Linked DNA regions of Homo sapiens: regions 1, 2 and 3 are each linked to region 4. The links are contacts of gene promoters, found by promoter capture Hi-C in blood cells and fetal thymus (Javierre and others, 2016). All regions are on one chromosome and are shown on one strand. The core of a region is centred on a gene start or on the middle of the fragment in contact, and the rest is flanking DNA. Distances in the headings are between cores, read along the strand shown.

Region 1 (2,700 bases), core at 190-2,689, 390 kb after region 4:
CCTGGCAAAACGAACTTTCAAGAAGAGGACAAAATAAAACATGTTTACAGACAAACAAACAAAAACTGAGAGTTTACAACTACAGATCTATTCTAAAAGAACTTCTAAAAGATGTTTTTTACTTCAGAAAGAAAGAAAATAAGCTTTGGAGGATTTGAGATGCAAGAAAAAAATGACAAGAAATGTGTATTAACATATGGGTAAATCTAAATAAGTACTGTATGTATAAAATAAAGAAATTAAGAAGAAAAATGTCATTTGTGGGTACTGTAAAAAAAAAGAGAAAATAATATAGCTTGTAAGTTTGAGAAGGAGTGGGTGACAAGTAAAAAAATATATATTAAGGGCCTTGAATTACTCAGGAGGTGGGGTTGTGTTAAGTATGCATATGGTAAGATTTCAAGGTAACCTATAAAAGAAAAGAGACAGAATATAACTTACAATCCAGCAGACGGGGAATAAGAGAAAAGAAAAAACAAAGTCAAGGGTAGAGACAAGAATTCAGGACAAATAGAAAGAAGAAAGCCAGAAGTCCAAATATGTCAGTAAATACAAAGGGGCTAAAAATGGCAATTAAAAGATAGAGGTTGTCAGATTGGATAAAAAAAGAAAATCTAGGCATTATGCTGCTTACAAGAGACTCATTTAAGATATAAAGATATGTGAATTTAAAAGCAGAGATAGAAAATAATAATATAAATACTGAACAGAATAAAGGCCTTGGGGGCCTTCAGGCCAGTCTCAACAGCTATAGTAGTCTCAACAGCTATAGTAGTCCCGCATGTGGCTTGCCTGATGCTGGCATAAGGCTGCTGCACCCCACCCTGACTGATCCTCCTAACGCCCCCTCACCTGGCTGGTGATGTCTGAAGGCATAGGCGAGGGGGGCTTGGAGTAGGTGGCGTCCTGGGAGACGAAGCCAGAGTCATGGGAGGAAACGCTGGAGAGGCGAGCGGTGGTGGTGGCTGGCTGCGCCAGGCTGCGGTAGCGACAGGTGGAACTGGGTGAGTATGTTTGGGCACCCCCAGGCCATGGGGCTCCGCCACCCTTGGCACTGCTACTGCTGCTGGGGGCACTAGGGGAGTGAAGGAAGAGGGCACAGCAGCCAGACAGGGAGACAGAGGGGTGTGTGTTTGGGGGAGGTTGACAAACGAGGGTGGGGAAAGAGGTGAGGGGCAAAGGAAGGAAAAGACAATGTCAGACTAGGAGGTCCTGAGACCCAGGTGCTACACAGGAGCTGTGTTCTGGGACGGTGTGGAAGGGGAGGGCCAGAGCAGGGTACCCCCAGCCCCAGTGCTGAGGGGAGCCGTGGTCAGGGAATGCCCAGGGTGAGGCAACCTCTCTGCCTCCTATTCTGCCACTAAGAACAGTTGTCCAGGCTGGGCACAGTGGCTCATGTCTGTAATCCCAGAACTTTGGGAGACCAAGGCGGGTGGATCATTTGAGGACAGGAGTTCAAGACCAGCCTGGAGAACATAGCGAAACCCCATCACCACTAAAAATGCAAAAGTTAGCTGGGCATGGTGGCGCATGCCTGTAATCTCAGCTACTTGGCAGGCTGAGGCACGAGAATCACTTGAACCTGGGAGGCGGAGGTTGCAGTGAGCCAAGATTATGCCACTGCACTCCAGCCTAGGAGAGCAAGGCTCTGTCTTGAAAAAAAAAAAAAGAAACAAGAAACAGTTGTCCTGTCTGGGCGTGGTGGCTCACACCTGTCCCAGCACTTTGGGAGTCTGAGGTGGGTGGATTGCTTGAGTCCAGGAATTTGAGACCAGCCTGGGCAATAGGGTGAGACCCTGTCTCTACAAAATATATGAAAATTAGCCAGGCGTGGTGGTGCACACCTGTATTCCCAGCTACTTGGGAAGCTGAGGCAGGAGAATCGCTTGAACCCGGGAGGTCGAGGCCACAGTGAGCCATGATTGTGCCACTGCACTCCAGCCTGGGTGACAGAGCGAGACCCTGTCTCACAATGACAACAAAACCCAAAAAACCCACCAAAAAACCTATTGGTTTCACCAAAGATCTTAATCTAGATTCCTATATCCTAAAGAATATATCTTTATCACTGAGGCCTCAGCCTCCCGAGTAGCTGGGACTACAGGCACACACCACCATGCCCGGCTAATTTTTTTGTATTTTTTAGTAAAGACGGGGTTTCACCGTTTTTACCAGGATGGTCTCAATCTCCTGACCTCGTGATCCGCCTGCCTCGGCCTCCCGAACTGCTGGGATTACAGGCGTGAACGACTGCCCCCGGTGAGTCCAATCATTCCTAAACCACCTTCTCAAAATCTGGTATTTGCCATCCAGTCCTAACTGGATGTCTAGCATATGGTGATGGTGTGTGTGCGTACAGAGGTCACCTTCCAAGTGGGTCCTGCACCCACCATCACCCTCACTCTCTCCAATCCCTCAAGGGTGTCCAGCCCTCTATGGCTCACACCCTCAGCACAGCAATTCAACCCTTGGGTGGTGTTCCTGGCTAAGCGTGACCCTGAAGCCTCCCAGCCTCTGCCCCTGCTCATGGCTGTCCCCTGCAATCAGCCCCTTCACTGTGGGACGGCCACCCACGCAGGGTCTGAAGAGCCTCTCTCTGAGGTAGTAGCTGATTGCTGTGCCTGGCTTCTCCCAAGCTCTGGATGTCCAGCCAGTGATTCTGGGGAGAGGGGTGCCTGGCAAAGGGGGGCCCCCACCAGC
Region 2 (2,700 bases), core at 22-2,521, 260 kb after region 4:
TACATAAAGGTTTCAGAATCATAGAGCTGTCAAATGTGGTATTGACTTTATATTCATAAAGGTACTGGTTTCATCTGTAAGAGGTATGATATGAGGGAAAGTTGTGCTTTTTCATTCTTCTTCAACTATATTCTTTTAAATTGTTTTGAAACCACAGTGAAATTGAAGGTGGTGTTCTAGGAATTAAGAGATTTGGGAAAGCTTGTTAGTCAATCTTGCTAGTGCTTAAGGAAAGCAGAGTGGAATTGAGTGGAATTCGAATTTTAGTGTGAGTAGAAAAGCGGGGATGGGGAAGGAGAAGGGAGTTTGAGCTCCTGGATATAAATGGTCACCTGATCCTAAAACTTTGAAAGTAATAGGAGAATGCCTAGTAGTTACTGCAATAGCAGGAAAGTCTTGTGACAATTGAATTGCAGCCTCATAGAAAGAAAGCTCAGTCTCATTTTCCCTTGATTCACATTGGAGCTACGTTTTTCTCTTGTTCTCTCAGGAATGTGGGATGGGTGAGTAACATCATCCTTGCTAGCAGACAGGTTTTTCAAGAAAACAGCTGTAATTCTGCCTGATATTTAGATATTCTGCCTGTATGAAACAGATTGAAGGAGTTGGGAGACATGTAGGAGGAAAACAACTTACTATTAGTAGAATACTCATTTTTGTGGATTTAATTTTCATTGTAGGCATTTGAATCATATCCAAGTTGAGTAGAAAGGGAAAATTGTGAATAGGAAATGGGTAGGCTTATAAGCTGAAGAGATAATTATTAGGCACCTGGTTTTATGTGTAGTATCTACATAGAAGTTGGTCCGTGTTGGTGTTTTACTTTGGCTTGGTGGCTTGTTGATATTCATGGCCCTTGAAAGCATTGCCTAGACTGTTTGAATTAGAAACACGTTTTAAGATAACCTATTGTGTTCTTTCTTTTTTTCTTTTAACTTTTTAAATAAACTTTTTATTTTAAAACAGATTTAGGGCCAGGTGCGGTGGCTCATGCCTGTAATCCCAGCATATTGGGAGGCCGAGGTGGGCGGATCATCTGAGGTCAGAGTTTGAGACCAGTCTGGCCAACATGGTGAAACCCCATCTCTACTAAAAATACAAAAATTAGCTGGGCGTGGTGGTGCAGGCCTGTAATCCCAGCTACTTAAGGGGCTGAGGCAGGAGAATCACTTGAACCTGGGAGGCGGAGGTTGCAGTGAGCCGAGATTGCACCACTGCCCTCCAGCCTGGGTGACAGAGCGAGACTCCATGTCAAAAAAAGAAAAAGAAAAGAGATTTAGGTTTACAGAAAAGTTAACTCTCACTTTTATGAAGAAGACAGGAAGTTATAGGGGTTGAGTGTCTCAAGACACAGTCTAGGTAATGGGGACAGAATATCCTGGCTTCTGAATCTCAGTTGAATGCCCATTTTGATTAACTGCAGTGAGATTCTGTGGGTCTTGGTGGTTTCTTTCAGGATAAGTTTAGTTTTTGAGTGCCCACCATGTACTCAGTGATTAAGATAGACTCTGCCTCAGAGCACTTGCCATCTAAAAAAAGAAGACAAGTATACAAAAGTGTTGTGTGTTGTGATGTGGTGAAAGGCACAGGTACATTGCTGGGAGGGGTTAAAGGAGAGGGCATGTGTTTGAAGGTCAGGGCAGGCTCTTTAGAGGGACAGCATTTGCTAACTTAGTGATAGGCCGTTTGTTGCATTATGGAACTTGTAGTTGAACATTTTTCTCCTTTATTAAATGTTAGAAGTCTTGGAAAGGACTATATCCTGCTAAATTTTACTCTTTAGGTACTGTAATTTGGGAGTCACCTATAAATACAGGTCGGGTTCTGTTGGTTCACTCACTTTCCAGATACCCGAAGTTACTATTGAGTGAACATTCCTTCTGCCTGCACATGCAGCAGTCTTCCAGGCAAATACTAACCTTGGCTGGTACTTGGTGATGCACACTACCAATACCAAGCCTTTTTTTCTCTTCCACAGGTGGCTGGTGAAGGTGCTGATCACCACAGGTGTGTACCTAACTGCTAGGGTCGATGTGGGGTCTTATAGTTTATCCAAGGAGAGGGACCTGCACAAAATATTGAGGCTGCCCTGATGGTGTCTTTCAGAGGGTAACTTTGCAGTTGGATGTCACTGGGCATAATAGTGCTGCACACCATCTGCCTGTGCATCAGATGGTCTGAGGCAGGAGTCTGCCTCTCTACTTCCTCCCACAGAATTTGTCATATATGGTTAATTTGCCTTTTACTAAGCTAAAAGAGTCTCTAGCTAGAGAACTTTAGCTTCATACTCTCATAGAGTTGTACATTCCAGGTGTACTGACTGAAAGATCAGGACCGAGAGAAAGCTTTTGAGTATATTCAGGACTTGCTGAAGCAAGATAAGTATCAGATACCCTTGTCTATGAAGTGAGAGGGAGTTACTTGAGCTTCAGGTATCTGGATGGTCGCTCACTTTACCTTTTGGAGTGAGCTGCTGGTTGAGCCTTAAATCCTAAGGCAAGGCAAGTAGAAGAAAAAAGCATTCCCTCCTCTGGGGTCCTTAGCAGTGTTCAGACAGATGGGAGCCCTGTTGAACTGTGACCTAAAGATACAGTCTCATACCCTTATGGATTCTTCATTGAGGTATGAACTATTGTTTTTTAACATGAGACTTGAATTCCTTAGAATGCAGTGTGGATGGTACAGTTCCTAGTCATTTAC
Region 3 (2,700 bases), core at 201-2,700, 500 kb after region 4:
GGGTCAGCCAGGGCTGGAGGAGCCTCAAACCAGCCCCATTTCCGTGCTGGGTCAGCCACCCAGAGGGCGGCTTGGCTTTTGGACTTGTCAGGTGATCATTTTCAGATGCTGGGGGTTGATGGGCTCTTGGCTCCTCAAAGCGGGAAGCACAAGAGCCAGGAAGAAGAGGTGATTTCCTGCCCTCCTGCCGCGGCCTCTCTGTGGGCATGAAGCACATGGGCACAGCTGGGGGTGGCAGGAGGCAGCAGCTTCCTGCCCCTTACTCCACTCACATTTTGCGAATCTCTTTGCCATTGTCACCCAGGATCTGGAAGAGTCCATCCAGGATCTCCGGCAGGTAATCCAGCAGGTTAATGTCTGGCACCGACTCCAGAACCAGGATCTGACCAGGGGAAGGGAACAGGAGGGGAAGTCAGCTCCAGAACCCTGTTTCCTGCTCACCAAGCCTCTGGGACTGGGCTGTAGGAAGGGGACCCTGCTGAGACAGCATTTCCCTGCAGTGCAGGTGTCCCATGTGGGAGGAGGGTGCTGGCAAGGACAGTCAGCATTTCTTGTTTAATGTGCAGGGGAATGGCAATTTGACTCTAAGGAAATTCGGATGCCCAGGGGAGAAGGGGATGGATGGGGAAGGACAGAAAAGGCTAGAAAAAGTGAGATTGCTGGAAGTAGCACTGCTGGCTTTAAAGGAAACTCAGGTGTTTTCTGGGACAAGGAAAGAACTGGACTCCCTTCCAGGGCAACAAGAACCTGATCCCTTCAGGGCCAACATGGTGGGTTTCGGGGGCAAAGCTGAATAAGGTGTTTTTGAATTATCAGGTGTTAATGGCTATTCAAGGGAGAACATGGAGGGTTCCTATAGCCAAAGGGCCTGACAAGAGTGTGCTAGAGAGCAGATTTTCCAAACTGGAGGCTGGAGAAACGGTGTCCGGCCAGGCCTTACCCAGGAGATGATGAACTGCCGGGCATACTGGTTGTTGGAGTAAATCCTCTCTCGCAACAAGGGGATGAAGCTCACCAGGTCAAACTTGTTGCTCTCAGTCACAATGTCCTGTGGATCAGAGGAAAGTGAGCTGCCGAGAGCCCGAGACCAGGGCTGCCTGACCTCGCTGAATCACTTGCCCAGGGCTGGCTCCAGCGCTCAGGCGGCCACCAAGGAAAATGGCAGATCCTGAGCTAGGCATAAGAGGTCTCTGGAGTATTCATCCTGTCCCAGTCCACGGGATACGAAAAACGGGTAGATTGAAAGCAGGAAGCAAAGTCGAGAGAACCAACTGAATGGCAAGACCCTACTCTCTGTGGTCTGGATGGAATGCCCAGGCCCCTGCTGTCAGGGCCAGAGAGGTGTGGAAAGTGACAGGCAAGCTTCTTTGCTCTAGGTGGCGGCAACAAAAGGGGACATTTTGGGTGATGGCACAGTTCTGTATTTGATAGTGGTGATTGAGCTCGATATTCTTGTCATAGAACTGCACACCAGGGAGTACATGTAAATTTAAAATATATTTTAAATTCAAGAAGAACATTCCCAATGACAGAATTTCTAAGCTTTACAGACAGACGGGAGAAACAGATTGTAGAAATAAAAGTGGGGACAAAGTACAAATACCTTTAAAAGGCGGTCTAGGAGCTCAGATCCGCTTTTCACATTGGGGTCTGGGTCGGCTGCCAGCTGCAAGAGGCACAGACAGGGGAGGGACACAGAGGCGAGGGTCACGGTTGGATGCAAGACCAGGGATTTCCTGCAAATCCGCAGCCGAGGCCTTGGTGCAGCCCAGAACATCTAGCAAGAACATCACCCTTTCGGTGAACACATTTGAGAAAGGCTGGGAAAGTGGGAGTGGGTACAATGGAGTTGGCTGAGGAGCAGATTCAGGAAATACCCTTCTGTTCAGGGACTTCTCCCATGACCCGCTGGGGTTCCTGTTCCCTGTTGTGACTGGGTCACGGGGTTGCTTCCCGTCAGCCTTCCCCAGGGGTTTCCAATCTTAAAGCGCTGGGTCCTTGTTCCACTCCTGGAGGAGGGGACAGGGTAGCTGCGAGGCTGATACTCTAGAAACTTCCGTGGCATTCTGCAGGGGCAGCAGCATTGCAGGGCTGCTCCGCGCCTGGGAAGGGAACTCCACCAGGCTGCAAGAGGCACGGAGGAGAGCATGAGCTTTTTCTAGGGCACTTATGAGCTAGACTAAGTGCAGCCCTCCCTAAAGGGAAAGTACGGTCTGGATGATGGCGTCAGCATCATCCCCTTCTACCAGGGAGGCGAGTGTTTCACAGACTATCAGCTTCTTCCCTCTACTGTATGGCAGACTGATACTTATATCAAATGCAATCAAAATGAATTAAAAGAGAAATGAAAAAAGGTATAAATGCAAGTCCATTAAAAATGATTAGATTCAACAGACAGTAAGTGTCCCTTGCAGCCACATGCTTGTTTGCTCTGCTTGCATCTGGGAAAAGGGGTCCAAGGTTCCAGAAGGTCAAGTGAGGTGGGGGAACCAAGCGCAGCTCAGTGAGGAGGAGGAGGAGGGCGGTTACCTTGCTCAGCCCGTCAAAGAGCACGTTGAAGTGGGGCAGCACAGCGCCCCGGGCCACCTTGACGATGTTGTAGAGGGCCTCGCAGGCATAGTAGCGCAGCCTGCTGTCTGCATCATTGAAGCAGGTCAGCACTGGCTCGATCAGCTCCTTCAGGTAGAGCCCTGAGTCCTG
Region 4 (2,700 bases), core at 72-2,571:
CTCCGCCTCCCGGGTTCACGCCATTCTCCTGCCTCAGCCTCCCGAGTAGCTGGGACTACTGGGACTACGGGCGCCAGTCACCACGCCCGGCTATTTTTGTATATTTGGTAGAGATGGGGTTTCACCGTGTTAGCCAGGATGGTCTCAATCTCCTGACCTCGTGATCTGCCCACCTCGGCCTCCCCAAGTGCTGGGATTACAGGCGTGAGCCACCGCGCCCGGCCGCCTTCCCCTTCTTGATAAGGCTCCCCCTCTTTTACTGTCTCACAGCCTCAAGTGTTTCCCTTCATAATTTCCATACGCGCTTCATGGATTGTTTAATGTGCGCCTCCCCCATCAGGCTGTCAGTTCCATCCCAGCAGCAACGACTGTTCTGGGCTCTTTTTTTTTTTTTTTTTTTGAAACGGAGTCTCCCTCTGTCACCCAGGCTGGAGTGCAATGGTGTGATCTCAGCTCACTGCAACCTCCGCCTGCCGGGTTCAAGCGATTCTCATGCCTCAGCCTCCGGAGTGGCTGAGAGTACAGGCGCGCGCCGCCACGCTCGGCTAATTTTTGTATTTTTAGTAAAGACGGGGTTTCACCATGTTGGCCAGGCTAGTCTCGAACCCCTGACCTCAGGTGATCCGCCCGCCTCGACCTCCCAAAGCGCTGGGATTACAGGCGTGAGCCTCCGCGCCTGGCCCTGGGCTATTACAGCACATCCTCAGCATCTAGTACAGTGGCTGCTAAATACGTATTTCGTGATCAGGTATACTAATCCTTTAACACCAAGTTCGGAATTAACTCACATGCTTCAAAGCACACCGAGAAATACAAACTGTTTTACAGAACAGCTTAAGATGACGGTCTCGGTGCGCCTGGACCGGCATCAGCTGTTTAGTTAATTTTAAGAAATCAAGGAATGGCTGGCTTACAGCAGGATTGCACCCAGCTGGCCCATCCTTCCTCCCGTGCCCCCACCCGCCCCTAGGGGATTAAAACCAAGGGAGCTAAAACCCCAGGTTGGCAACCGTGAGGTATTGGTGCTCAGCAAATCCACCCGAGGCCGCGACACTCGCAGCGCTCCCGGGGGCGAACGCAAGGCCACACTGTCCAGCTCCCGCTCCAGCCCAGACTGGGCTTCTCCAGGCCACGCGGGGCCTGATCCTGGGGCCCACTGCGGCTGCGGAGCTTTCCCCCCAGTCTGCGGGCCCAGCCGCTCTCCTAGCACCGCAGAGCTCTCCGAGGGCGGCCTACCTCTCCTAGGGTCGCCGTCCCCAGCTCCTCCCTCAGAGTCCCCCGCCAAGGGCCCGCTGCACCTATTCCCGCAGACGCGCAGCTGTACCGGCCTCAGACCACGACCTACCACAACCCGCCACGCTCCGTCCAATCAGAGCGCGCCGACGGAAAGTGCCCCGCCGCGCCTTACCTCATGAGATATTATTGGTCAACCAACATGCCAGTCAAACTGAGGACGAATCCGTTCATTAGTGGATTCCTGGGAAGGCGGCTCTAACTTGGCTGATGCAACTGCGAGAAAAGGTGGGATGGGGTGCGTCACATGATCGAGTTAGACCCCCCCCCGCCCCCCCCGCCCCCCCCCGCCCCCGGCTCCCGGAGGTCGACATTTTGGTTTCCATAGGCAAAGTCCTAACACCACAATTGACATAGTTAAAAAGGGGAGACGGTAACGTGTTTGGTAGAGGTTACATATCTTGCTATAGTTGTTTATTTTAGTTGCTGAGTGATACACAGCCCTCAAAGAGTCTGACATTGTGCCCATGGTTACACTTGTCCGGGGGAGACCTTGAATTTGGTGTGGAAGAAATAACATCAGTAGTTCAGGTACGATTGGATCAGCATCTGGTCCTCGATTTGCCTTTGGAAAAAAAAAAGTTAATATTTATAGGCCTGGGGGAGGAGGGTGAATATATATATATACATATACATATATACATGCCAGGTGCGGTGGCTCACGCCTATAATTGCAACACTTTGGGAGGCCAAGGTGGGAAGATCACCTGAACCCAGGAGTTGGAGACCAGCCTGGTCAACATAACTAGACCCTGTCTCTACGAAAAATTTTTTAAAAGGCCGGGCGCGGTGGCCCACACCTGTAATCCTAGCACTTTGGGAGGCTGAGGCCAACGGATGACGAGGTCAGGAGACCGAGAGCATCCTGGCCAACATGGTGAAACCCCGTCTCTACTAAAAACACAAAATTAGCCGGGCGCGCATCTGTAGTCCCAGCCACTCGGGAGGCTGAGGCAAGGGAATCCCTTGACCTCGGGAGGCGGAAGTTGCGGTGAGCCGAGATGGCGCCACTGCACTCCAGCCTGGCTACGGAGCAAGACTCCGTCTCAAAAAAAAAAATAAAAAATAAAAATTAGCCAGGCATAGTGGCGCATGCTTGTAGTCCCAGCTACTTGGGAGGTTGAAGTGGGAGGATCACTTGAGCCTAGGAAGTTGAGGCTGCAGTGAGCCCTGATCGTGACACTGCATTCCTTGGGCGACAGAGCGAGGCCCTGTCTGAAAAATATGTATGTATTTATACGTGAGGCATTGCATCAAACATTTCACATGCTTATTTCATTTGATTTTTAAACTGTGTATGAGGTCAGCTGGAGTCCCCTTTTTACAAATGAGGAAATTACCTTGCACAAGTTCACACCCAATAGTAAGTTGTGGAGACAGGATCCAAACCTGTGTCTATTTAACTCC

Evidence for each region. Contacts are between HindIII fragments. The CHiCAGO score rates a contact against its expected background, and 5 or more counts as called.
Region 1: a fragment that was not itself captured here is called in contact with the fragment with the promoter of AARS1 in region 4 in 1 of 17 cell types (fetal thymus); the score reaches 5.2 in fetal thymus.
Region 2: a fragment that was not itself captured here is called in contact with the fragment with the promoter of AARS1 in region 4 in 12 of 17 cell types (erythroblasts, megakaryocytes, naive CD8 T cells and 9 more); the score reaches 23.5 in erythroblasts.
Region 3: a fragment that was not itself captured here is called in contact with the fragment with the promoter of AARS1 in region 4 in 1 of 17 cell types (fetal thymus); the score reaches 6.1 in fetal thymus.

What each region holds. Positions count from the first base shown.
Region 1 is chr16:70,673,454-70,676,153 of GRCh38, forward strand. MTSS2 (MTSS I-BAR domain containing 2) reads right to left here. Exons shown (of 15, transcript NM_138383.3): 11 at 853-1,075. Among named protein-coding and RNA genes, the nearest start is that of MTSS2, 11 kb to the right of the region's middle. The HindIII fragment of the contact is 2,596 bases long and covers 142-2,700 here.
Region 2 is chr16:70,548,672-70,551,371 of GRCh38, forward strand. All of the region lies in intron 11 of SF3B3 (splicing factor 3b subunit 3), which reads left to right. Among named protein-coding and RNA genes, the nearest start is that of SNORD111, 12 kb to the left of the region's middle. The HindIII fragment of the contact is 2,144 bases long and covers 200-2,343 here.
Region 3 is chr16:70,783,173-70,785,872 of GRCh38, forward strand. VAC14 (VAC14 component of PIKFYVE complex) reads right to left here. Exons shown (of 19, transcript NM_018052.5): 3 at 2,530-2,697; 4 at 1,604-1,666; 5 at 941-1,048; 6 at 273-382. Among named protein-coding and RNA genes, the nearest start is that of TRG-GCC2-5, 5.0 kb to the right of the region's middle. The HindIII fragment of the contact is 180 bases long and covers 1,361-1,540 here.
Region 4 is chr16:70,288,185-70,290,884 of GRCh38, forward strand. It overlaps AARS1 (alanyl-tRNA synthetase 1), which reads right to left and starts at 1,322. Exons shown (of 21, transcript NM_001605.3): 1 at 1,237-1,322. It also overlaps a transcript of DDX19B not described here. RefSeq lists a silencer at 538-667. The HindIII fragment of the contact is 11,417 bases long and covers 1-2,700 here.